Regions from separate parts of the Homo sapiens genome. Here regions 1, 3, 4, 5, 6 and 7 are each linked to region 2. The links are contacts of gene promoters, found by promoter capture Hi-C in blood cells and fetal thymus (Javierre and others, 2016). All regions are on one chromosome and are shown on one strand. The core of a region is centred on a gene start or on the middle of the fragment in contact, and the rest is flanking DNA. Distances in the headings are between cores, read along the strand shown.

The links. Contacts are between HindIII fragments. The CHiCAGO score rates a contact against its expected background, and 5 or more counts as called.
Region 1: a fragment that was not itself captured here is called in contact with the fragment with the promoter of GTF2IRD1 in region 2 in 3 of 17 cell types (erythroblasts, total B cells and naive B cells); the score reaches 6.1 in erythroblasts.
Region 3: the fragment with the promoter of EIF4H here is called in contact with the fragment with the promoter of GTF2IRD1 in region 2 in 2 of 17 cell types (naive CD8 T cells and total CD4 T cells); the score reaches 6.7 in naive CD8 T cells.
Region 4: a fragment that was not itself captured here is called in contact with the fragment with the promoter of GTF2IRD1 in region 2 in 1 of 17 cell types (erythroblasts); the score reaches 5.7 in erythroblasts.
Region 5: a contact is called between a fragment that was not itself captured here and the fragment with the promoter of GTF2IRD1 in region 2, in 1 of 17 cell types (neutrophils). The highest score is 8.9, in neutrophils.
Region 6: a fragment that was not itself captured here is called in contact with the fragment with the promoter of GTF2IRD1 in region 2 in 6 of 17 cell types (neutrophils, erythroblasts, naive B cells and 3 more); the score reaches 10.7 in neutrophils.
Region 7: a contact is called between a fragment that was not itself captured here and the fragment with the promoter of GTF2IRD1 in region 2, in 3 of 17 cell types (non-activated CD4 T cells, total CD4 T cells and erythroblasts). The highest score is 6.1, in non-activated CD4 T cells.

The regions. Positions count from the first base shown.
Region 1 is chr7:74,013,756-74,016,649 of GRCh38, reverse strand. No RefSeq gene overlaps it. Among named protein-coding and RNA genes, the nearest start is that of ELN, 13 kb to the left of the region's middle. The HindIII fragment of the contact is 1,434 bases long and covers 893-2,326 here.
Region 2 is chr7:74,452,456-74,455,155 of GRCh38, reverse strand. GTF2IRD1 (GTF2I repeat domain containing 1) reads right to left here and starts at 1,250. Exons shown (of 27, transcript NM_005685.4): 1 at 980-1,250. RefSeq lists silencers at 628-697, 1,200-1,549 and an enhancer at 2,435-2,700. The HindIII fragment of the contact is 10,217 bases long and covers 1-2,700 here.
Region 3 is chr7:74,172,926-74,175,625 of GRCh38, reverse strand. It overlaps EIF4H (eukaryotic translation initiation factor 4H), which reads right to left and starts at 1,270. Exons shown (of 7, transcript NM_022170.2): 1 at 1,184-1,270. The coding sequence starts at 1,242. RefSeq lists enhancers at 205-717, 718-1,231, 1,213-1,507 and a silencer at 1,010-1,519. The HindIII fragment of the contact is 12,534 bases long and covers 112-2,700 here.
Region 4 is chr7:73,958,288-73,960,987 of GRCh38, reverse strand. No RefSeq gene overlaps it. Among named protein-coding and RNA genes, the nearest start is that of ELN, 69 kb to the left of the region's middle. The HindIII fragment of the contact is 1,484 bases long and covers 580-2,063 here.
Region 5 is chr7:74,059,481-74,062,358 of GRCh38, reverse strand. It overlaps ELN (elastin), which reads right to left. Exons shown (of 33, transcript NM_000501.4): 23 at 2,312-2,473; 24 at 2,175-2,219; 25 at 1,858-1,983; 26 at 1,220-1,258. ELN-AS1 (ELN antisense RNA 1) reads left to right here and starts at 79. Exons shown (of 2, transcript NR_183555.1): 1 at 79-149; 2 at 2,327-2,878. RefSeq lists a silencer at 1-103 and enhancers at 1-200, 1-244, 245-745. The HindIII fragment of the contact is 1,995 bases long and covers 537-2,531 here.
Region 6 is chr7:74,037,244-74,040,081 of GRCh38, reverse strand. It overlaps ELN (elastin), which reads right to left. Exons shown (of 33, transcript NM_000501.4): 4 at 2,343-2,375. Among named protein-coding and RNA genes, the nearest start is that of ELN, 10 kb to the right of the region's middle. The HindIII fragment of the contact is 961 bases long and covers 861-1,821 here.
Region 7 is chr7:74,725,395-74,728,233 of GRCh38, reverse strand. The region is part of intron 12 of GTF2I (general transcription factor IIi); the gene reads right to left. It overlaps GTF2I-AS1 (GTF2I antisense RNA 1), which reads left to right. Exons shown (of 4, transcript NR_110044.1): 2 at 712-832. Among named protein-coding and RNA genes, the nearest start is that of GTF2I-AS1, 2.1 kb to the left of the region's middle. The HindIII fragment of the contact is 3,415 bases long and covers 1-2,839 here.

The sequences.
Region 1 (2,894 bases), core at 360-2,859, 440 kb after region 2:
GGTGGCACATGCCTATAGTCCCAGCTGCTTGGGAGGCTGAGGCAGGAGAATCACTTGAACATGGGAGGTGGAGGTTGCAGTGAGCCGAGATCGTGCCAGTGCACTCCAGCCTGGGTGACAGACGGAGACTCCTTCTCAAAAAAAAAAAAAAAAAAGAAAAGAAAAAAGAAAAAAAAAAGAGCATCTTATCTAGTCCCTCCTTACTCCTCCCTAAACTCTCCCTACAGCCTGGATTTCTCTCAGCTGCCTCTCTCTTTAATGGGCTGGGGGAGCTCATTCCAACCAGTATGGCAGATAGGTTCCGTCACCAACTGTGTTTGATGGGCAATGGCCATCAGAAGTGGTGTTAAGAAGGATTCTGAGGATATCCAGTCTCAGCAGACGGGAATCACACAGTCAATGGGTCATGTCTGCTGGGAGCAAGAAGTGGGAGGTATGGCCTATACTTTGTGTCTTAAATGACCCTGATCTAGTCTAAATCCCTTATTAGGATTAATCCAAAGTAGAGTTTAAATGATTCATTCAATGGTACTCAGGCATCAATTAACAGAGATGGTTTGTCTGGGCGCAGTGGCTCACGCCTGTAATCCCAGCACTTTGGGAGGCTGATGTGGGAGGATTCCTTGAAGCCAGGAGTTAGAGATCAGCGTGGGCAACATAGCGAAACCCCCATCTCTGCAAAAAACAAACAAAACAATTAGCTGGGTATGGTGGTATATGCCTGTACTCCAGCCATGCAGGAGGCTGAGGTAGGAGGCTCACTTGAGTCCAGGAGCTCAAGGCTGCAGTGAGTCATGACTACGTCATTGCGCTCCAGTCTGGGCAACAGAGTGAGTCTCTGTTTCTAAAAGAAAAAAAATAATAATAATGATAATAAGATAGTTTAGAAGCTTGGCTATTACCCATTTAACAGAAAGGCACTTACTTGTTTATTCAGCAAATATTGATTTAGCAACTACTAATTTCTGTTCCTGTGCTGAGCATTGAGAATATGATGGTGAATCCAATCTAGTCTGATGTCTGCCTAATTCTGCGTTTCTCCCTTGACTCCAATATTCAATGTATGGACTTAATGGAGCCATCTCACGGGATAGTCACTTACCATCTGGTGAGCCAGCTGTTCCTGGGGTGGGATTATAATAAAATTTTTAAAAAATGGAACTTGGGGCCAGGTGTGGTGACTCATGCCTATAATCCCAGCAATTTGGGAGACCAAGGTGGGCGGATCACTTGAGCCCGGGAGTTCGAGACCAGCCTGGGCAATATGGCAAAACCCCATTTCTACAAAACACACACACACACACACACACACACACACACACACAAAATTAGCCAGACTTAATGGCGTGTGCCTGTAGTCTCAGCTACTTGGCGGGGCTGAGGCTGGAGGATCGCTTGAGCCTGGAAGGTGGAGGTTGCAGTGAGCTGAGATCGTGCCACTGCACTCCAGCCTGGGTGACAGATTGAACCCTGTCTCAAAAAAAAAAAAAAAAAAAAAGAAAATAAAAAAGGAAGTTGGTGGGTAACTGGGGTTCTGAGGTTGTACTGTTTCTCTCCAAGTACCTTTGCAGAAAGAGGTCCCCAAATAAGGCCTGTAAATGAAAAGATGTGAAAACACAAATCACTAATGAAATGGACCAGGGGGGCTCCTGGGTTTCTATGATGGTCCTTGGAGACTGTTCGGGCACCATTCAGCACCATTCGGTCCTCCCCTGGTTCTGCCCACCTGCAATGCCTGTCTCCCTCTGAGCCGGCCTCAGGACCTTCCGCCCTTCCCCAGACACGCCCTTCCCCAGACACCCCCTTCCCACTACACCCCTGTGGTTAAAAGCAGAGGCTCTGAGTCCACATGGCGCAAGTTCAAGTCCCTCTTGTTCCACTTTGGGCACTTTGACCTTGGGCAAGGTACCCTCCCTGAGCTTCAGTTTCCTCATCTCTTAGAGAGGGTGTGGCAGGGAGTCAGGGAGCTCAAGCACATTGCATGCATGCAAGCACAAAATAGCTGCTCAGCAAAATCTTAGCTACAGCCCTGCTCAGATCCCTGGTTCAGGGCCGTTTGGAGAAACTGGGGCAGTAAAAAGAGGTGTGGCCCCGTCCTGGGGCTCCATAGAAAATTCATTTCTGCATCCTCTACGTGGAGCTTTGCACTGAGCCTCGGAAATGGTAGAGACTCGATCAAGGCCTGTAACAGGAGGGAGAACCAGGGTTTTGTTCTCAACTTTCTGCTTCTTTCCTTGTGGGAAAACCCAGATTTGTTTCAGGGGAGTGAAGGAGCAGGGTCTGTATGTTTTCTGGACCAGGTGGGCTCGGAGAAGGCCCTGAAGCTTCTGTCAGATGAGAGGGGCCCCAGGAGGTGAGTCCCGACCCTGCGGCAGAGCCACTCCCTGGGGTCCAAGTGAACCTCCACCGCCCGCCAGGCCCCATGTTCTAGCTTCAATCATGTCCACCGCCCTGGCTGGGCCCCAGCCAAGCCCTCACTCGCTGGTGAGGGCCAAGCCGAGGCTGTGCCAGGCTCAGCGGAGGCCCTTGGCCAAGAACAGCAGAGCCATTCTCAGGAAAGCTGAGGGATTAAGCTGGGAGGCCAGCAGGGATTCAGGTATCCGCCCTCTGCCCCAGCTTGGCCATGGGAGGCAGGGCGACCTCACAGTTGTAAAGCAAAGGGACTGACCAGAGCCACCCACCCGGGGACCTGAGGACACAGTGTGGCCTGGACCAGCTCGCTCCTGCGGCCGCCTCTGGGGAGGAGTCGAGATCACATGGACTGATGCTGAAGGACTCTGGCCTAGGACCTGTCCCTGATCTCAGGCCCGCCCTGCCCTGGTGTTGGAATCTTAGCTCCTCTGGGTCTCCTGGGGGCTGTGCTCACCTGGAGGGATGGGTAGGATGACGTGGAT
Region 2 (2,700 bases), core at 1-2,500:
GGATGGGGACACAGGAGACTCCCACCGCAGGACCTTGGTCCTGGGAGGTAGGGTCACTAGGCCAGACGCCAGAGCTCCAGCCCCCTCCAGCACTGCCAGGAGGGTGGAACGAACTCTCAGCGGCACAGCGGCCCCCTTCCCTGGGCCCACGCCAGGCGAGGCAGGGTCTCACTCCCTGGCTGCTGGCCAGGGGTGAGGAGCCCAGGAGAGGTGTCAAGCCCATCATGCCCAGGGTACTTAGGATGGGGCGGGTGGGTGTTCAGCACCCTGTGGCCCCTCCTCTGTCCTCTCCACCCATCTGCAGGAACTCAGAGACCACCCACAGACCGAGTATCCCCAACTTACTCCTCTGAACCCTTTGTGGTCCCCCCACTGCCACCTTCTGAGTCCCCTCCACCCGGGATTCAGCGGCCACCACCACACAGGCCAGCCCCCTCCCCGGGGCCGGGGCGGGGGGTCCACTACAGGAACCACCCTGCTGGGGCAATCCTGGCTGGACTGGACTCCGCCTGGGAGTTGGGGGCGCGGGCCAGGGGCTGGCCCAGACCGGGAGAAGGTGGAGGGGGGAAAGGCGGGGACCGCGGCCTTCCCAGCCCCCTCTGCTCCCACCCCGGCGCCCGCCACCGCGGGCAGCGCGACTGACCTCATTCGCCAACTGCAGCAGCCTGCGGGCGCCGGCCCGGGACGCCCCCCACCTCCAGAAGAGCCGGTGGCAAGGAGGGAGGGGGTGACAGCTCCCAGCTCCCGGCCCCTCCCGGGCAGGTGGGGGGCGGCCGTCCCTCCCCTCCCCCCGGGCCCGAATTATAATCCCAGTCACGTGCCTCCCCGGGCACCCAAAAGCCGGCCCCAGCTCCTGTAACACCTTGAGAGGGGGAGGGGCGGGGACCCCCCCCCCCGGAGGCGGAGGGGATCGGGGGCGGGGGTGGGGGAGAAGGGGAGAAGGGCCTCGGTGCCCGCCCCCCGCAAAAGTTTCTCCTACCTTGGAGGATCCCCAAGCGCTCCTGCCAGCGGCGCCCCGGCCCCGGCCCGCGGCCAGGACTCAGCCTCCTGCCGCTGCCTCCTTAATTAATCCGGGAGAATGGGGGAAGGAGAGGCAGAGGGAGGCGAGGACGGCGGCGCGGCGAGGGCGGGGAGGGAGGCGCGGGGAGGGGGCGCGGGGGGGGAATCGGCCGGCCGGGGGGCTGGCGCTCGGCGGCCCCCACCCCCGGCGCGGGCTGCGGCGGAGGGCGGGGCGGCGCGGGGAGAGGAGCGGAGAGCGGGAGCGCGGGGAGGCTCTTTGTTCTGTAATCCCAGTAAGATTGCCAGCCATTCGCCCCGGCCCTAATCCCAGCCCCGCGCAACACCACCCTCCATTGGCTGCCATTTACATACGGGATTAGCCCGCCCCGCGCCCCGCGCCCCTGCGCACCCCCCTTGCTACCCAGCGCCCCTGCGTCCCGGGGACCTGGGCACCGCGGTGGGGAGAGCGCGCCGCACCCCTCGGCCCCGGACCTGCGGGGAGGGGCGGTGGCGCCCTCGGTTCTCCCCCACCAGCGCCGGATTAGAAAAGCCTGGGCGCGCCCCCGTCTACCCCCACCGCTCCCCACCACCACTGGGAGAGCAGCCGGGCGCAGGGGGCTGAAGTTGGAGGGTCAAGGTCACCCAGCTGGAACGCGCGGAGGCCCTGAGTGTCCCGGCTGGTCACTCCCGCCTGGCCCGGGTTCTAGTCCTAAGGCTTGGGCCAGGTACCTCTTACTCTTACAGCCTTTGTCCCCCTCCCACCCCTGAGATGTGCAGGAAGGCAGTGACAGGCCGAAAGTCGCAGCAGAGCCAACTGGACTCTTGGTCCCATCTTGTCTGATGGGACCTCCCTCTGATAGGCTTTTACCCCTGTCCCCCCAACCAGCCCCCCCGCCCCCCGCCCGCCCCGCTCCCACCAACCACACACACACCACAGCAGCGCTCCTACTGAATCAGTGCGCACGCCTCCCATCCGGCCCCAAAGCCATAAATCCTAATTCAGCACAAGGAACACAGTCCTTCCCCCACGTGGTGCCCTGATCCCTGAACTAGACCTTGGCTAGACTGGGCATGGCAGGGAGGGAGGGACTCACCCCAGGCAGGCCCCAACCCCAGGGAGCTTCTGGCTTAGAAGGACAGCCAAACATAGATCGAGAATCTCCCAGGTCCTGGCAAAACCCACAAGGTCTCCCCACAGCCTCCTGGCCAAACTGCCTTTGCAAAGATTAGGACAGTGACAGAAGTTTAGCGTGGCTGACTCCATCTTGCTTCCAGCCTCACGCGCTGGCTGTCTTCACTCATTCCGGGGCATAGGCCAAGCTAACCGGGGGAGGAATTTAGTTTATAGTTCAACTTTGAAACAAGGATGATAATAGTTACTCCTTAAACCTAACCTGCTTTTTATACAAGAGACCAAAACCACCTTTGTAAAACTAACGAAAGGCCGTGAGATTAGGATTATGGGAGGGGCCTGGACGCTGCTAAAACCTACGCATCGTTTTTATAATCTGACTGCTCAGGAGTCATGTGGCGAGAGATCACAAGATTTGTGAGTTCCCCACTTCCTCCTATAGATAGCATCTCTATTGTGGAAACTGAGATTGGTCTTTGGAGATGTTTTTCAGACTTTCGCATTCGGGCAACCGACTGACTCACCTGGACCTGTGTGACTCATGACTCAGCCCATCCTGTGGCCCCCAC
Region 3 (2,700 bases), core at 21-2,520, 280 kb after region 2:
TTTATTAGCAAATAAAATGTTCTTTGGAATGACAATAGCTCCACCTACACCGGCACACTTCCACGTTACAGTATCATGAACATTAGCTACACTCCTGCCCCGAAACAAGCTTTTGTCTGAGCCGTTCCCAAACCAAGGTATTAAAAGTGATCATTCTTTACCAAACAAAGATACTTTTGGACTGCAACCCAGGAGACTGAACACCTCAGTGTGTATTATTGTGGTGTTATCCTGGGAAAGTAATCCTTTCTGCAAGAAAACACAAAGCCCAAGTGTGTCCTTGACAAACAGCAAGATGTTCATAGCCTATATTCTAACGAGGCAACTTGTATTTAAAAAATAAAATAAAAAAAAGTGCAGAGTCCTGGAATTAAACACCATGAGCTCTCTATTCAAAGATGTTTCTTTTAAGCAAAGTGTTTCAATTATACATAGTTGTCTGCATTTGACAACAATCAGGACGACGCTAAATGCGGTTCCTTCTCCAGATCAGAGCGAGAAACCAAGGAGAAATGAAATTGTGCCAAAGAGCACGTAGCACCTGTCAAGGCACTGTGACCCAAGAAAGATTAATACAAAGAAGCTACGATGGATTTATCTCCTTGGTCTCCCCCCGCCCGCAAGGAGTCGTACCATCCCCGGGCCAGAGCCGCCAAATCCCTGCCTCACACGTAAGGGGAAGGGAATCGCCCCTCTTGGCTGCCGACCTTCCCCAGTCGGCCGGCCTCGTGGCGAAGGGGCCAGGGGCCTGCAAGGCGGGCAGGCAACAGAGGGCCGCGAAAGAGGCCGGGACCGGAGCGGGGCAGGCCGTGTGGCCCGTACCCCAGCGCCACAGCTCAGCCCCGCACTGGTCCTACCGTAGGGGGGATGGGGCTGGAAGCGGGCGCTCGTCTCCGGGCATCGGCGCCGCCGCGGCCAAGGCAGGGCAAAAACCAACACGTTGTCGTTGGCGGGAGGCAGTGGAAGGGATCCGCCCCGCAAGCAAGACCCCGGGAGCCCAGCCGCCGCCGCCCCGTCTCCGAGCGCGCCATTTCCAGGCCCCGGCCCTCCAGGCGCCGCTCCTAGGCCTCCGCGGGCCCCCGCCTCCCGCCGCCCCGGCTGAGCGCAGGACGGCCGCCACCCTGACGGCCCCGACTCCGCCGGTCCCGCAGCCCCCGACGGGGCCCGCGCACGCCCGCCTCACCCTCTGCCGCCGCCGAAGCTGCTGTAGGCCCGATCGTCGTAGGTGTCGAAGTCCGCCATTTGCCGTCTCCGCTCCGAGAGGAACCAGGGTGAGCGAGGAAGGACCCCGCAATATAACTCCCCCCGCCCCGCCGCCGGGGCTGTCCGCCGCGCCGCCTGATCGCAAATCCCTTGGACGCAGGCACGCGCACGCGCGCGCGCGCACGCACGCACGGACGCTGGCCGCGCAGCGCCCGGCCCTGGGCCCACCGGCAGCTGCCTGCCCCGTGCGCTCTGCAGCCCACGTGGTGCGGCGGCGTCCCAGCTGGACGCCTGCCCGGCCTACGCGGCCCATTATGTGCTGGCCCTGGGGTGCGCCCGTGGCTGCCTCCTATCCCCGCCGCACCACGCCCGTGCGCGCCGGCCTTTCCGTCCGTCGGCGGGAGGTGACCTGGAGAGCTGGGGGGAACTCCCTCTCCAGTTCGCCTGGGACGCTGCCTTTCGGCCTCCATACATGGCGGGGACCTCGGAGGCCTGTCCCGCTTGGACCCCCAAGTGGTCCCCGGGTGACACCCAAGTAAAGGCCACCTCCTTCTCCAGGCAGGAGCTGGCCACACGATGAGGATGCCCCGGAAGGGGGTGCGAGGCGGTGGGATGCAGACACGAATCCTGCCTTCCAGGGCTTACTCGCTGCCTGGGTATTGGGGGGTTTTGAGAGGAGAGAGTATAGGTGATCGGTGACTTAGCAAGAGAGACTGCACATCTCGGTTTTTTGCAGAAGTCGTTGCCTTGGAAAAAGAATTGGATACTGTTGTGGATTCCATCATCTAGCAATAACAAAACATGGTTATGCAGTGGGAATTAATTACACGGGTAAATTTCCAGGTTTGTGATTGAGATGGTAGTAATTGTGGATGCCACGATGTTGACAAACCTTAATTATCTAAGCACACTTTGAAAGAACCTCATAGAATTTTGTTGTGATGTGTACCTAGGTATCTTCCGCTTAACCATTACTTTTTATTATGTATTTATTGGTTCGTTGTTGAGACAGGGTCTCGCTCTGTCGCCCAGGCTGGACTGCGGTGGAACAGTGGTAGCTCACGGCAGCCTTGACCTCTTGGGCTCATGCCATCCTGCCGCCTTAGCCTCTGGAGTAGCTAGGACTATAGGCGGGCAGTACCTCGCCTAATTTGCATTTTTTTTTTTTTTTTTTTGAGATGGAGAATCAGGTTGGAGTGCAGTGGCGCAATCTCATCTCACTGCAACCTCCACCTCCTCGGTTCAAGCAATTCTCCTGCCTCTGTCTCCCGAGTAACTGGGGTGACAGACGTGCACCACCACACCCAGTTAATTTTTGTATTTTTAGTAGAGACAGCGTTTCACCATGTTGCCCAGGCTGGTCTTGAACTGAGATCCACCCGCCTTGGCCTCCCAAAGTGCTGGGATTACAGGCATGAGCCACCGTGCCTGGCTCTAATTTGCTTTGTAAAACATTTATTTGTAGAGACAGAGTCTCACTATGTTGCCCAGGTTTGT
Region 4 (2,700 bases), core at 72-2,571, 490 kb after region 2:
AAACAACATGTATTTATTTTCTCATAGTTTCTGGGGGCCAGGAGTCCAGGCACAGCTTAGCTAGGTCCTCTGCTTCTAGCTCACTAAGTTGCAATCAAGGTGTCTCATCTGAGGCCAACTGGTGGAGAATCGACTTCTAACTCATGTGGTGGTTGACAGAATTCAGTTCCTTGCAGGCTGCTGGACCAAGAGCTTCAGTTTCCACCTGGCTGTCAGCCAGAGGCCACTCCCATCTCCTTGCCACATGGCAGCTTACTTCCTCAAAGCCATTAGGTGTATGGTGGGGAGGACAAGAGTGTCCTAGCAAGATGGATTATTATCTTACATAATGTAATCACATACACGTCATCATGTACATGCCTTCACCTGTGTTATATTCTATGATTTAGAAGCAAGTCACAAGTCACATCCACGCTCAAGGGGAGGCCACACAAAGGTGTGATGGCAGGAGGTGGGACTCATAGGGCCACCACAGTCTCTCACCACCACTGATAAGACTCAAGCTATATTCTTTAAACCAAAAATGGAGAATACTGCATTATCAATATTAGTCATGAAAGAAGAGACATTACTAAAGCTTCTGTGTACATGAAACAGATAATAAGGGAATGTTATGAGCAATAGCATGCCAGTACATTTGATAGCTCAAGTAGCATGGACAAATTCTTTGAAGACACAAATGACCAAAACTGGCTCAAGAATAAATAGAAGTTTAGAAGGAAAACATAGCGCTGTAAATTCCTATATTAAAAATGAAGCAAGATCTCAAATCAATAACCTAAACTTCTACCCTAAGAAACAAGAAAAAGAGGAACAAAGTTAAACTCAAAGCAAATACAAAGAAAGAAATAATATAGATTAAGGGGAAATAAATGAAATAGAGACAGAAAAGCAATAGAGAAAGCTAATGAAACCAAAAAGTTGGTTCTTCAAAAAGATCAACAAAATTCACAAATCTTTAGACTTGCCAAGAAAAAAAGAGAAAAAAATTCAAATTACTAAAATTGAGAATGGAAGAAATGACATTACTATTTTTTTTTTTTTGAGACGGAGTCTTGCTCTGTTGCCCAGGCTGGAGTGCAGTGGCACAATCTCGGCTCACTGCAACCTCTACCTCCTGGGTTCAAGTGATCCTCCTGCCTCAGCCTCCCAAGTAGCTGGGATTACAGGCACACGTCAACACAGCCGGCTAATTTTGTATTTTTAGTAGAGATGGGGTTTCACCATGTTGGCCAGGCTGGTCTCGAACCCCTGATCTCAGGTGATCCACCCGCCTCGGCCTCTCAAAGTGCTGGGATTACAGGTGTCAGCCACTGCGCCCAGCCAGGACATTACTATTAACCTTACAGAAGGATAGAGAATTATAAGGGAATACTATGAACAATTGTATCCCAGGGACAAATTCTTACAAAGCCTCAAGCTATTAGAACAGACACAAAAAGAAATTAAAAATCTCAAAATATCTATAACAAGAGATTGAATTAATAATTAAAACAAAACAAAACAAAGCAAAACAAACACAAAAGAACTCCTTGCAAAGAAAAACCCAGGACCAGATGGCTTCACTGATGATTTCTGCCAAACATTTAAAGAAGAATTAATATCAATCCTCCAAAAACCTTTCCAAAAATAGGGGGGAAATTTTCCAACTCATTCTGAGGTCCTGACACCAAAACCACACAAAGACAAAACAAGAAAAGAAAACTATAGACCAATAATTCTTACAAATAAAGACAAAAAAATTCTCAGCAAAATACTAGAAAATGAATTCACTAACATACAAAAAGGATTATATACCAATGATCAAGTGAGATTTATGCCAGGAATGTAAGTTTGCCTCAGTGTACAAAAATCAATGCAGTTAATACACCCTATTAATGGAATAAAAGGCAAAACCATATCATCGTCTCAATAGATGTAGAAAAAGCATTGTCAAAATCCAACACCCTTTTGTGATAAAAACAATCTCCAAACTAGGAATAGAAGGATAATTTCTCAACCTGAAAAAAGACATCCATAAAAACCCACCTATCATCATACACAGTGATGAAAGGTAGAAAGCTTTCTTCCTAAGATCAAAAACAAGACAAGAATGTCCCCTGTCAACACTTATATTCCACATTGCATCAGATGTTCTAGCCAGGGCAGGAGAAAGAAATAAAGGCATCCAGATTAGAAAGGATTAAGTATAACTGCCTCTATTTGCAGAGAATGTGGCCTTGTATAGAGAAAATCCTCAGGATTACACAAACACACAGACATATATACACACACACAACTATTAGAACTAATAAATGAGTTCAGCAAGGTTGTAGAATACAAGATAAATATATAAAAATCTGTTATATTTTTTGGAAATGAACAATCCAAAAAATTAGATTAAGAAAACAATTCCATTTATAATAACATAAAAATAAAATACTTAGGAATAAATTTAATAAAACAAGCACAAGACATACTCTGACAACCACAAAACACAGTTGAAAGAAATTAAAGAAGTCTTGATGGGGTGCAGTGGCTCACGCCTGTAATCTCAGCACTTTGGGAGACCAAGGCAGGTGGATCACCTGAGGTCAGGAGTTCGAGACCAGCCTGGCCAATATGGTGAAACACCGTCTCTACTAAAAATACAAAAATTAGCCAGACATGGTGGTGCCTGCCTCTAATCCCAGCTACCAGGGAGGCTGAGGCAGGAGAATC
Region 5 (2,878 bases), core at 285-2,784, 390 kb after region 2:
GCCTGCGCCCTTCGCGGCTCCACCACATGACGTCACTCTGTTTCCCTGGCAATGTCTGTTGACTCAGGCCTGCCAAGCAGTCAGCAGTGAGCAGGGGAGGAGGCCAGGGCTGCTGGGGGTCGGCGCTGAGGAAGCCAGGATTTTCCGAGGTAGAAACTGGCCCCAAGTGGACCTGCCCGGCTGGTTGGTGGATCCCTGGGGGAGTCTTCCACCTCCCACCAACGCTGCTCACAGGAGGCCAGGAATTCAGGGGCTACAGACAGCGTGGGTCTGGCCAGGCAGGGCTGCCAGAGCGCCAAGTGCAGAGGCTGTGGGACTGCCACGTCCTCTGGGCTGGCTCGTGGTGGGAGCGGTCCTGCTGGCAGGACAGGAAGGCGGGCGGGGGCCCGGGGTGCCCAGATGAGGAATACCAGCTCCTTTGCTCGGGCCAGAGAGCTGGGGTGGAGGCAGAGACTGCCCAGACTCCTCATACCCACAGCAGGCCCAGTCCCTTCCTGGACACAGGGACCATGTAACTGTCAGGGTCAGGGCAAGCTTAGGGATGGTGGAATTGCCTCCTGGGGGGCAACTGGGATTTCAAGGGTGTTTTTGGTGGTCACAGGGGTTGAAGGCACCATAAGCATTTAGTGGGCAGGGGCCAGGTTTTTAAACTGTCATAAACGTGTCCTAGAAACTGCCTTTTTCTTTTTCTTTTCTTTTCTTTTTTTGAGATACAGTCTCGCTCTGTCGTCCAGGCCGGAGTGCAGTGGCGTGATCTCGGCTCACTGCAACCTCCATCTCCTGGGTTCAAGCGATTCTCCTGCCTCAGCCTCCCGAGTAGCTGGGATTACAGGTGCCCGCCACCACACCTGGCTAATTTTTGTGTTTTTAGTAGAGATGGGGTTTCACCATATTGGTCAGGCTGGTCTGGAACCCCCGACCTCAGTTGATCTGCCCACCTCGGCCTCCCAAAGTGCTGGGATTACAGGTGCCCGCCACCACGCCTGGCTAATTTTTGAATTTTTAGTAGAGATGGGGTTTAACCATATTGTTCAGGCTGGTCTGGAACTCCTGACCTCAGGTGATCTGCCTGCCTCGGCCTCCCAAAGTGCTGGGATTACAGGTGTGAGCCACCACGCCCGGCCGAAACTGCCTTTTTCTATTGTGACCACCCCAGTCCTGTGCTGTCAGGGATGGTGTGGTGGCAAGGGAGCCACAAGTGGTTGTGGGGTGCACTCACCATATTTGGCTGCTTTAGCGGCAGCCAGGGCTCCAGGTACTGGGGAGAAAGAAAAGTTGGGGAGTGGTCAGGAGCCGAGCTCTGTGCCTGGGAGTTCTGCCGCCTCCTCTAGAGAGCCCTCCCTGACTTCCTTGGCCTCTATTGCTTCCTCAAAGCCCTGAAGCTGTACAGGCACAGAGCTTTAGGGCTGAACAGTGCCTCCACCTTCCGTCTGCCCCTTCCTTCTCTCCCCAGGCCTAGCATGGACTGCCTGAGGCTGGGCACAGAGTGGGGCTCAGTCACCAGCTGGTGAAGAACTGGAGTTCCTAGTGGTCCCCTGGCCACAGAGCACTGCTGAAGGGGAGCCAGGCTGATCTACCTGCTCCTTCCCTGGTTGGAGGGCAGGCTTTTTCTCAGTCTGGAGCCCTGCCACCCCTCTACTGAGGAGGCAGATACTCTGCAATTGGGCAGCCTGGGGTCCCTTGGCCTGGTCTGCCCTCCTCCCGCTATCTGTTACCCCCAGATGCTTAGGAGAACCTAACAAGGATTTTACTATGCACCCCTGGGTGATGAGGGGGTGCTGGGGAGGTGCTGAGAGGAGGAGGGATCTCCTTCCCTGAGCTCAGGGGACAGGCTCCGCCTAACTCCCTCATCTGCACCTGCCCCGAAGCCAGGAACACCAGCACCAACTCCAAGTCCAGGAACACCAGCACCAACTCCAAGTCCAGGGACGCCGACACCAACTCCAAGTCCAGGGATGCCAGCACCAAGCCCAGCTGCAGCTCCTGCAGACAGAGGGCAGTGGTGGCGACAGCAGGCAGGGAGCATGCCCCTAAGGAGGTGTCCTGCCCAGGGAGCTGAGCCTAGTCCCAGAGGAAGGGGCCCAGATCCAAGCAGCGGCCTCCTCCCTGGCTGTTGCCCCTAACCAGCTCTGAGATCGTTGGGGAGAGGAGAGAAAGGTGGGCGAGGCACTCACGGAGCTGGGCTTTGGCAGCCACCTTGGCAGCGGATTTTGCTGCAGCTGAGGGAGGGAGAGAGAGGGGGATTAGAGATGGAGGCGGGGCCCATGGAGGCTTCGGGGGCCCCTCAGGCTCATTGACTCATGAAACTCACCTGCAACTCCACCAGGGCCAATGCCGGGAGCCACGCCAACGCCAGGAGCCACACCAACTCCAGGAGCCACGCCAACTCCAGGAGCCAAGCCAACTCCAGGAGCCACACCGACACCAGGAGCCACGCCAACTCCAGGAGCCACGCCGACACCAGGAACTAACCCTGCAAGATTGAGAAGAGCTGATCATTAACCAAGACCTGATCAAAGAGGACAGAAGCTTATGGAAAGAGGGCTGGAGCCTCGGCCCTGGCATAGATTTGCTGTGTGACCCTGGATCAGTTACTTTCCCTTGCTGGGCCTCAGCTTCCTCCTCCCTAATATGAAGTGTGTGCAGGCTCAGGAGTTCATAACTTTGTTTTTTTGGAGACAGAGTCTCACTCTATCGCCCAGGCTGGAGTGCAATGGCGTGATCTCGACTCACTGCAACCACCACCTCCCGAGTTCAAGTGAGTCTCCTGCCTCAGCCTCCTGAGTAGCTGGGACTACAGGTGCGCACCACCATGCCCGGCTAATTTTTTTGTATTTTTAGTAGAGACAGGGTTTCACCATGTTGGCCAGGCTGGTCT
Region 6 (2,838 bases), core at 92-2,591, 420 kb after region 2:
TCATGTGGCCTGACCACTTCTGTCTCTGCCTGCCCTCCTTCCTTTGCACTCACCTGCCCCAAATGCCCCAAGGATTCTAGCATCTGGAAAGGAGGAGAAAGCGGGGAGGGGCTGACCACAGCTGGGAGTCCAGGGACCTGGCCAGCTCCATCCTCCTTCTTTCTAGAGTCAGAGAGTTCTAGATTCAGACCCTGCTGCTGCTACCCAGCCTCCATGAGCACAAGCAGGTCAATTTGCCTCTCCGATGAGGCTTAGTTTTTGCCATCTACAAAATGGCCATTATATCACCTGCCTTGCTGGGACCAGTGAGCATGTGTGCAGAAAGCACCTAGTTGTGCAACCTACCCAGGGCACACAGTGGGTGCTCCCAGTTCCTTCTTGTCCATGCCCGTGCCCCTCTCAGTGGGCGGCTGGCCTCTGGCTAGTGCTCAGGGTGTTGGGTGTGCAGGCTTCCAGCTGCCTGGTCCCCCGCTGAGAGCTGAGGCAGGGCAGGGCCAGCTTGGACCTGTGGTGGCGCCCACGTGGAAAAGCAGCTGCCAGGCCACCCACCCTCTGTCACCAAGGGATTAATTGTTCCCAAGCATGACACGCGCTGCCTGTGCTCCATTCCATCCTGCCTGGGCAGGCCCAGACGTCCTGGCAGCCCGGATGTGGGGGCCTCCCTGGGGGTGCCATGGGGGCTCTGCCGACCCTTCTGTAGCCCTGAGTCTTCGGGGAGGTCATGGAATCCAGCCCCTTGCCTGGAAACACTGCCCTTTTTATCAGAAGGAGATGCTCTGACTTTCCTTTGGATTGACTCCTTCACCCTGAGCTGGAAGTTCTTTCAGAAGTCTAACCTAAATCTTTCATTAACAAAAGCTTCACTTTTGCAACTACACATCCTGGAACTTCGTAGGGAGTTGTCTGTCTTTCCTCTGGTGTTTAACCACAACCTGCTATGTGTCTCTTGCTCCTAGTGGGATCAATGAATGTACCCTCCAGCTTTGCAGGCACAACCTCCTCAATTTGGGTCTTCTAGGCCAAGCACAGACCTACCTCCACACCTCTGCACCACTATCATCTCCCCTGTCCTCTCTTCACCGTCAAAGACCCTGCTAAGAACCCTCACCTGCTCCAGGAAGACAGGGTATAGGTGCTGGCGGGGATAAGTGGCAAGCTCCCAGGGTCTCCTGGCCTTGCAGAGCCCTGTAGACCCCAGGCACCCCGTTCTCCCGCCTCTCCTGGCTCCAGCCCTGGTGTTTCACAACCCAGATGGACTTTTAGCGCAGGGGAATCTGGGTCTTGAAGATTCATTTGCACTTGGATTATCAACTATCAGGATTTCATAAGAGCTCTTGGACATCTAAACTGTGTCCTGGAGACTTGGGCTTCTGAGCCAGGGCAACACAGCTCAGGGTGTGGGGCGGCCAAAGTCACATGTGGAGCGTCTCATGCCGAGGGACCATCAATCTGGACAGAGACGCTGTTTCCTCCACCTGCTCCTTATCCGCCAGTATTTCCCGGAGGGACCTGCCCCACCTTCCTTCCTGGGGGTGCATTCCCCAGAGCTGAGAGTGGACCCTCGTGGCAGATCCCAGCCCCTTGGGCGAGGCCAGGATAGATCCGGCCACACCTTCTTACTGGAAAACTCCGTGGTCTGGACACAGCTGGAAAGGGCCTGAGATTAGGAGGGGAGCTTATCCGGGGCCATGGTCGGTGCTCAGCTTGGGCTTGGGGTCAGGGCTTGGCCTAAGGCCAGGATTGGGGGTCCTGTGGGACCAGGGTCAGCAGGGTCAGGGTTCAGCCTGGGATTAGGCTCAGGGCTTGGGCTGGGGTTAAGCTTTGGCTTGAGACCAGTGCTCCATCTGGAGTCAGGAGAAGGGCTCAGAATGGCATCAAGGTCAGGGTGATCTGGGGTATTGGTCTGGGGTCAAGGGCTAGGGGACCACTCAGGGGAAGTCTGGGGCTGAGGATCTGTGTCTGAGCTCCCGAGGGTCATGTAAGGCTTGGAGGCCACTGGAACCGGAGCAATCCCTGATGTTGCCTCTAACAGCCTCTCCTTTGCAGAGAGGAGTCTCTGGACAGCTGGGTGAACACACATGCACATGTAGGGTAGATGCTAGACGCCCTCACACAGGGAGGACATGGAGCTGCTTCCAGCCTCTTGTTCCTGGAAGCCCTGGGACCTGGCCCCGGCCTACTCATCCTTGGGAGGCTAATCGGTGTCCACACCTCCCTCCTTCCTCCTGCCCGTTGGCTTCCTTGTCCTGTTCCTAGTTTCCTTGTCCCATTCCCAGCTGGGTAGGCTCCTCCCTCCCCAGCTCCCTCGCTGTCTCTCAATGCTCCGAGGCCTTGGGTCTTACCTGGCTTAAGAGGTTTGCCTCCAGGCCCCAGCGCTGCAGAGGGAAGAGAAGATAGTGAATGGGGTGGCCCAGCTTATCCATCTACTACTTATCCAACCCCCAACCCGGGCAAAGTGTGGGCAGTGTGGAATCACACACCCCAGGTCCTCCCGCTCAGACTTGGAGCCCCTGGGAACCTAGCTCTACTTCTAACTCGTGGTTTATACTCTCTGAGTCCCAGAGTCTCAGCCTCAAAAGGGGATGATGGGCTGGGGGTGGTGGCTCACGCCTGTAATCCTAGCACTTTGGGAAGCTGAGGCAGGCGGATCATCTGAGGTCAGGAGTTTGAGACCAGCCTGGCAAACATGGTGAAACCCTGTCTCTACTAAAAATACAAAAATTAGCCAGGCGTGGTGGCATGTGCCTGTAATCCCAGCTACTCAGGAGGCTGAGGCAGGAGAATCACCTGAACCTGGGAGGTGGAGGTTACAGTGAGCTGAGATCGCGCCACTGCACT
Region 7 (2,839 bases), core at 312-2,811, 270 kb before region 2:
ACCTCCTGGGCTCAAGCGATTCTCATGCCTCAGCCTCCGAAGTAGCTGGGATTACAGGCACCCGCCACCGCGCCCGGCTAATTTTTGTATTTTTTTGATAGAGATGGGGTTTCGCCATGTTGGCCAGGCTGGTCTCAAACTCCTGGCCTCAAGTGATCCACCCACCTCGGCCACCCAGAGTGCTGGGATTACAGGTGTGAGCCACCGCGCCTGGCCTGTTCAAATACTTTTAACAAGTGCAAAATGTATGGGCTTAAAGAAATAGGGCTGCATTATGATGAAACAGATACTGTTGATTCAGTCAGCACAGAGGCTGTGTATAAAGGAGCAGTCAGCTATTCAAGCACAGCGCACAGCACACACGCTGTTGTGAGAGTTCCGTGCTCATTTCCTTGTGGATACACCAGGAACTCACTCTGCTGTGACCCTTCAGTACACCTCATGTTAGGATTAGAGACATCTGGGTCATATCAGCTGCCACTGTCATCTTCTAGTCCCTCAAAGTGTCAGGTAACATGCTATTAATATTGCTGCTCAAACATCATCTATAAAATACTGAAAACATCATTTTAAGAAATTCTTATTTAAAAACAAATGTGGTATGGTGAAGAAAATAATTATTGTGTTAAAGACAGTATCATAGAAAAAAGATCACTCAAGTACAAGACACTATCTTTTTAGATGGGTATAATTGTTATTCTTATTTTACAGCTAAAGAAACAGGCTCAGAGGATGTTATTTGATTGGACTATGTTGTATCTCTGGAGAGCACAGCTGAGATCAGACTGTGTGTGTGTAACTCCACTAGACTACGAGGGTGCTTCTCATAAAGGTAAGAAATGCAAATTTGGCCTAATATACGATGTTGCCCGGGGCAGCACTGGGTCACTTCTATAGACACTTCTGTGTTAATCAAGGGAAATCTTAAGGGAAGGTGAAAATGCTTCTAGAAGGCGACTGGACACCAGCACCCTTGCTTGCTGCCTTTGGGCTCTTCCTCTAAGGCCAACAGTGACCTGAAATTATTGACTGGCTGGCCGTGCTAATCAACTGGAGAAAATGGTTCCGAGGTCACCAACATCAGACAAATTCATTTTAGGACCTATGTATGTGCTTAGAAAGACAGAAGTGCTTTTGTAAAGGATACTATTTCAGAAAAACATAATCATAGTAACAACTAATGACGCTATAAAATGCTGATGTGTTGAATGCTACTTTAGAAAAACATGTTCAAATCTAGGAAAAAATTTGATAGAAAACTATCTATCTATCGGCAGGGTCTCATTCTTTCTATCTATCTATCTATCTATCTATCTATCTATCTATCTATCTATTGGCAGGGTCTCATTCTATCTATCTATCTATCTATCTATCTATCTATCTATCTATCTATCTATCTGTCGGGAGGGTCTCATTCTATCGCCCAGGCTGGAGGGCAGTGGCATGATTATAGCTCACTGCAACCTCGAGCTCCTGGCCTCAAATGATTCTCCTGCTTCAGCCTCCCAAATAGCTGGGACCAACACACCTGGCTATTTTTCTTTTAATTTTTTGTAGGGACAGGGTCTCATTATGTTGCCCAGGCTGGTCTGAAACTCCTGGCCTCAAGTGATCCTTCTGCCTCAGCCTCCCAAAGTGCGGAGATTATAGGCATGAGCCACGGGACCAGGACAGAAAACAATTTTAAAATGACAACCTCCCTGTGAAATAAAACTTGACTGGCACCTGGGTTTGTATGACTGTAAGGATTAAAAATGGTCAAGACACCCTATAAATAGATTAAGGTTCCAACCTAAGTAGAAACAATCTGGAAAACAGAAGTGTGTAAGTTTGGACCTCAATTCTGAAAATATACTTTTTAAAAAACCCGATTTTCCAACTCCCAAACAGATTTTAGAAACCTTAAGAGTATTTTTATGCTGGCTTCCAAAGGTTAAAACAAAATACACTCATTTCACCTATGAATACTGTCAAAGCATTATAAATGCTTAATATTACTATATATTTTTTTACAAACATTAAGCAGTAACTTCTAAAATAAAAGTATTTCCCCTATAGGTTAAGGTCTCCTAAGTATCCTTATAGATCATCATTTAAGCTGACTATTCATTGAGTGACATAAACTGAAAGCTGCTAGAGTAGAATGACATGAGAAAGGAAACACAGCTGTAGATGGAATGGAAGGGACACCTGTGGAGCTCCATCCCATGGATCTCAGTCCAAATCCAAACTTCACAGCTGAGGCCCAGGGGAAGGGAAGACAGGTTTTCCTTACTGAAAAGACTTCACTTTTTCAGTCACACAAACATTTTAGACCACAATAGATTTAATAGCATAAATATATTTTATGAAGGTAACCCAATCGATCATAAACCAAAAAAAAAAAAAGAAAGAGAAAAAGGCAAATCTACTAGAGTGCTTTTTTAATACAACAAAGACTGTAAAATATTGAAAATATCAGGGATATCACATTTTCCTCTTCACTGACAAATAATAAAGTTCAATCTGTTAAATGTGAACATATATAGAGATGAATGTAGTTACTTTATTTTTTAAGACAGGGTCTCCCTCCTTCACCCAGGCTGGAGCACCACTCACTGCAGCCTCGACTTCCCAGGCTCAGGTGATCCTCCCACCTCAGCCTCCCAAATAGCTGGGACTACAGGCCTGCACCACCACGCCCAGCTAATTTTTTTTTTTTTAACTTTTGTAGAGATAGGGGTCCCCCTATGTTGCCCAGGTTGGTCTTGAACTCCTGGCCTCAAGTGATCCTCCTGCCTTGGCCTCCTAAAGTGCTGGGATTATAGGTGTGAGCCACCGCACCCAGCTGGATGTAGTT